2 separate regions of the Homo sapiens genome follow, and region 1 is linked to region 2. Evidence: promoter capture Hi-C in 16 types of primary human blood cells and fetal thymus (Javierre and others, 2016). All regions are on one chromosome and are shown on one strand. Each heading gives the region's core, a stretch centred on a gene start or on the middle of the fragment in contact. The rest is flanking DNA. Distances are from core to core; before and after follow the strand shown.

Region 1 (2,850 bases), core at 224-2,723, 2.9 Mb before region 2:
TCCTAAATTAGAGCTGTGCTCCCATTTATACTTCTTGCTATATGGGATACTGGCTTCTAAAAGCTAATAAAAATTCAGCAGAAAATGTAAGTTAATGAAGTTAAAATAAATCTTTAGAGCATCCATAACAATATTCAACAAGTAGACTCTTCAATAAAAGAAATCAGCTGGTTGAAAAAAAGAACTTTCATTATTTTTTCACAAAATATCATCTTCTTTCCAGCTCAAAGGAAGTGAGATAACAAAGTGTATGTATGTTATAGTTGCCAATTGTGGCGTCTCATATTTTTCTACAGTATTTTTAGAATCATCTTTTTTCCCATCAAGGACATATCTATAAGTATCTAACCAATCTAATTATGAAGCTGATTCAAGAATAGACAACAGTTTTCTTTCAAGCACTTGTGGACTTTTGTTAAAAGTACATACAAAAAGTAAACTAAGCAGGCACTGTATTGCTGAATGATGTCTGGCTCTATTCTGCTCCACCTGCAAACCTTTTTAGGCTGAGTCCTTTATTGCTGGAAAGTTATGATTTCACAATTGCACTGTGTTCATCAAAAGTGTTCTCTCATTTCAGGAGATCAGAAATGGTGTTACCAAAAGGGGTGAGACCCTCAGCTGGCTGAAATCCAGGCTGAAAGTTTTGACAGAAGTTTCTTCTGAGAATGAAGCCCAAAAGCAGGGAGATGAGCTGGCAAAATTATCCAGCTCTTTCAAGGCTCTTGTGACGCTGCTGTCAGAGGTACAGCATTTACTCACACTCTAAACAGACAGTTCTGAGTGAGGCATCTGGAAGGTTCTTTTTCTTCTGGTTGTAGTTTAGCAAGTAATTTTATAAAGAAACCATAGTTGAAACAGAATTGTTGTTATGCTTTTTTTGTATGAAGCTTGTTGGGAAAGATGAAGAGGATGTTTGATGTATGGTCTGTGCCATTATTGGAAATGTTAGTTCAGGTTCATGACCTATATCTGAAATATAAAACTTGTCAAATCCACTGTTTTTACTCTTATAAAAAGCATTGTTATTTTATGGTCAGCTTAAGATAAATCATGGAGGCTAAGAATAAGGCTTAGGGTCAAAGAAATCCAGGATTAGAGTTTAAATGTGATACCCTACCTCCTAGGTAACCTTCAACTTACGTAACATCTAGGTCTTGATTTCCTTATTTATAACACAGGGTTAAAAATACTCACTCTAAAAAGAAGTATCATGAATTAAATGCAGTAATGTATGTTAAGCACATAGTGTAGTTCCTGAAACAGAGTAAATGCTCAATAGCTGGTTCTTAGTAATAATAAAATATTCAGTGTTTAATCAGCAGGCCAGTGAAATTCTCTTCCTAGTGCTTTGATATGCATTTTAATGTTTTTCTATATTCCTTTATAGATTAAAATATACAAACGCATCTACTTCATTTCCAGTAGGGCCACTTCCACCATCAGCAAAAATATTTTTACTGACCAGGTTTTTATATAAATCTAAGTTTGTGCTTTGGAAGATAATGTAAGAACGTAAAGTAGAATAGATATTTACCAGTATTTCTTGAAATCATTTAAGTAGAAACTTGCATGGAAAAATGGCCTAATGGATTACAAGAAAATGACCACAAAGCTCTGTTTCTGAAAATCTGAAATTCTCCACAGAGATTTCTCATCTAACAATTCATCTGTTAACCTTCATGTTTTTAATCCATTTAAATCTGCTTGAGACTCTAGTGCTGAATTTACATAAGCCAAAAATACTCTGAACTGCTTACGATTTTAGTTTTATGTGAGAATTTTTATATATAAATTAGAGTTTCCCTATGAGTTTTTGACAAATTGAAAATAGTTCTATGATTAATCAAATTTTGGAACATAACCTATTTCAATCCTTTGATTATCCATCTTTCAAAGCAACGGCCACATTTAGCCAGTTGCCTGTTTTGCTCTTTCCTTCCCTCTTTTGGTGACAGGAAAAGCAAAAACAACATTCTAAAAAGTTAGTGTACATGAAGGTGATCTTTGAGCCAAGATCAAACAAATACTTGTCGTTATTCACAGACAAGCTTGTAATATATTTTGTCTCACCAAAAAAAAAAAAAAAAAAAATTGACTGTCTTTAAAGTTAGAAGTCAGTAGTTTCCCTAACATTTACCAAGGCCATTTGCTTTATCTTCCAAGTACTGTCATGATTTTGCCCCAGGACTTATAGTAAGAATCTCTCTCTAATGAATGTTCATACAGACATTAATTTTTTACACACTCATCTGCCTTAAACTTCTGCATAATTTATATTAATACCCTTTTCCACTACTTGATCACTTACTTAGTGAAAGCAGAAAGAGAGGAAAGGAGAAAAACACATTTTGTTTACAGATAGATTTGTATGAAGAGATGGATGTGGCACATTCAGCCCCTTTCTTTGATAATAATTCATTTAGTATTTAAATTAATGTTGAACACAATGTGTTTGCAATTGTCCAGTGTAAGAAAAAAAAAGACTGTGGGTGGATGCACAAGATACAGTGAAGAGTCATTATTTCAATAGATTTGCTCTGATTTATATTGAAATTGGGAGTTTGTGGTTTTCGTAAGGTCTCATTGCTGCTTGTTTGGAGAACAGATTGCTCTCCTTGGAAAAACTTAGATCAGAAGAGAGTCAAAGAAAAAAGATAGGATAAAAGAAGAAGAAACTGGAAGGCTTCTGTGGAAAACAAATGACAACATGTAAAAAGGAGGATCTTAGTGAAGATAAAGGATAGGCTTCGAAAACAAAGGATGTTGGTAAAACTGAAATAGAGGAAGCAGAAATTAGACAAGAAAATTCAAAATTTAGGGAAATGATAAGGAAGAGAATCCATTAGA
Region 2 (3,045 bases), core at 1-2,500:
CCCTCACCCAGGCTGGAATGCAGTGGCACGATCTCGGCTCACTGCAACCTCTGCCTCCCGGGTTCAAGCAATTCTCCTGTCTCCGCCTCCCGAGTAGCTGGGACTACAGGCACCTGCAACCACGCCCAGCTAATTTTTCTATTTTTAGTAGAGACGGGGTTTCACCTTGTTGGTCAAAGTGACACTTACCGTGCCCTTCGCCTTTGTATTTAGAGTGTTCATATTCAAGTCTTGACTAGGAAGAGGTGTACCGACATAGTTTCTTGTCATTCTCAGAACACTTGCTCTTTAAAATATTCAAACTTTTCCCTACCATTCTACTGAAAAAAGGCTGATACTGGCCTAGGTAGGCACGACTCTACGGCAGGAATGGTGAGCATCAGCCACGTTTTAATGTTAGGATGCCTCGATTCTCCCACCTCAGCTGGCATCAGAAGCACCTGCAGGACTCTCCAACCCGGACTGCTGGGCCCCGCCCCCAGAGGCCGGGCTGAGTCCCCAGGGGATGCGGACACCGCCGATCGCGCCCCGCCGTGAGAACTTCTCCTCCAACATCCGACAAAAACATTACGTCGCGCGAGGGCCAGGTCTCTCCCTCTGCCCACCTGAGCCCGGCGGAGCCCCGCAGCCTCGGAACGGCGGACCCTCGCGATCGCAGGCCGAGCAGGCACAAGTGGCCTGGAAATGCGCGAAGTGGGCAACTTCCACACTTCCCGAGCACACAAACATTCCTTGCCCAAGCGCTGGCTCTACCCCGGGAAGGCGCCATTACGAAGGCCTGATCACCGGCAACCGCGCGCTTCGACGGCAAAGCCCCGTCAGGTCGCGCGCCGGCTTGGGCCGCCGGAGAGTCGGTGTGGAGTGGCTCGAGGCTCACTCACAGCGACGCAGCCCCAGTGGGTCCCTTTCCTCTTACCTCGGCCTCCCACGCCGCCCCCATTTCCTGGGGTGCTTCTCCCCACACCTCCTTCGGGGGCCCGGACCCCCGCCCCTGCCCGCCGGTGGGATGTGGGAAGCGTCACTGTGGACAGCCCGGGCCTCCCGGAGAGTCGGAGTCGTAAAGCGGCCAGCCAGGCCCGCCCTGCCCTACCTGTGGGGCTCCGGACAGCGGCGGCGGCTCGGGGGCGCCCGTCGTCAGCCAGCCGGAGGCGGGTAGCGCCACGAACAGCAGGAGCCGGAGGGCGAGCGACCCCGGTGGAGCGCCCTCCATCTTGGACAACCCGGGCAGAGGGCAGCCGCGGCCGGGAGGTGAGGGCGGAGCCGGCCCGCGGGCGGGACGGAGCTTCGGCGGGAGGGACGGGGAGGGGCGGGGAGAGACGGGGAGGGGCGGGACGGGCCCTCCCCTCCCCGGGCGGCCGCGGAGAGGCGCGGGGACGCTCCGAGATCCGGCTCGCCAGGGAAAGGCGTTTGCGCACGCGCAGCGCCGCGCGGCGTCGAGGGGCGGAGTGAAATCTTGGAAGGTACGGCCCCTCATTAGACCCGCCCTCAGGATTGGACAGGACTCCAACTGGAGCGATGTAAATGTCCTCGTAACCATTATTTTTAAAATTAGTATTTACACACATGCATGTGTCTGTGTGTGCACATGTACATGTACCTATACGATGAAAACAACGGTAATATTTCAGAAAACTGTTATACATTAAAAATGAAACATCGCATTTACAGGGGAAGTTTTTATTAAGTGGGTAATTCCCCACCCTTGGCTGCACGTGGGACTCTCCCGGGCAGCTTTAAAAAGTACTGGGGTCTTCCTGAACACCCCACTTTCCAGCCTGGGCTGCGGCTCGGGCCCTGGTGGTTTTTTAATTTTCTCGGGTGATTCATTGTGGGGCCAAGGTTGAGGATGCGCCATGCTTACTGTTCAGCATTCTGCCGACCCCTGGAGGCGGCGCGGGGACAGCGCTCAGCTGGAAGGAAGCCAGCGCACCTGGGCTGTCAGTGCCTTTTTGGTCAGTATCGTAACTCTAAAGTGAAAGTGTTAGACTTTTCTTCCACCTTGCAGATTTAAAAAAAAAAAAAAGTTACGGAACCCTGTAAAGCAGAGTAGCAAGAAATTCAAGCATTTTAGATTAACAGGATTGCATGTTGATTGAGAAAAACTTGGAAACTTGGCCATTCAGGCAGAATAAGAGTAATATTTAGTCTTCCTTTGAAATAAAACTTTTGACATGAAATAAAACTTTTGACATGAAAAAGGAAACAAGAATCTATTTCTCTCTTTGAGCCCCCTTTACTCCTTTGAACACCCTCCTCCCACAGGCCTGCTGACCGCCACCGCCCCCTCCCCCGGCCCCGCCCCAGAATAAATTATAAACGTTTTGGCTAAAGACTCCTTTCAACTAACTCCGGGCTTACTCTGAGATTCCCCACGCCATTGTTAAGCTACAAGTGATTTCACAGCGAAGCCCCACACACTTCTGGGTTCCATCTGCAAACTTGGCCTTTTCCTTTTTTTCCTACTGCTGGAATTAAAAATGAATTTGGAGATGGGCGTGGTCATTTGTGCCTGTACTCCCAGCTATGCAGCAAACGCAGGCAGGAGGATCGCCTGAGTCTATTAAAAAAAAAAAAAAAAAAAGGAATCTAGAAGCCGGGTGCAGTGGCTCACGCCTGTAATCCCAACACTTTAGGAGGCCGAGGCGGGTGGATCACTTGAGGTCAGGAGTTCGAGAATAGCCTGGCCAACATGGTGAAACCCCATCTCTACTAAAAATACAAAAATTATCCAGGCATACTGGCACGCACCTGTAATTCCAGCTACTAGGGAGGCTGAGGCAGGAGAATCGCTTGAACCCAGGAGGCGAAGGTTGCAGTGAGCCAAGATCGCGCCATTGCACTCCAGCCTGCGCGGTGGAGCGAGACTCCGTCTCCAAAAAAAAAAAAAAGAATCTGGAAGTCAGAAAACATGACATGTGGATCTGTATAATTTGAATTAGTAATATAAGGTTACAAAGTACGTCTATATGAAAAGATAATAGGTAAAGTTGAGGCTCTCTGTTTTCTTACAAAGCCTTTCCCATGGTCTAACTGTCCATTATTCTT

Evidence for each region. Contacts are between HindIII fragments. The CHiCAGO score rates a contact against its expected background, and 5 or more counts as called.
Region 1: a contact is called between a fragment that was not itself captured here and the fragment with the promoter of GINM1 in region 2, in 1 of 17 cell types (neutrophils). The highest score is 5.4, in neutrophils.

Annotation. Positions count from the first base shown.
Region 1 is chr6:152,445,353-152,448,202 of GRCh38, reverse strand. SYNE1 (spectrin repeat containing nuclear envelope protein 1) reads left to right here. Exons shown (of 146, transcript NM_182961.4): 29 at 581-745. Among named protein-coding and RNA genes, the nearest start is that of SYNE1-AS2, 45 kb to the right of the region's middle. The HindIII fragment of the contact is 1,161 bases long and covers 893-2,053 here.
Region 2 is chr6:149,564,580-149,567,624 of GRCh38, reverse strand. It overlaps GINM1 (glycosylated integral membrane protein 1), which reads right to left and starts at 1,250. Exons shown (of 8, transcript NM_138785.5): 1 at 1,091-1,250. The coding sequence starts at 1,210. RefSeq lists enhancers at 654-703, 1,954-2,083 and a silencer at 974-1,523. The HindIII fragment of the contact is 6,228 bases long and covers 1-3,045 here.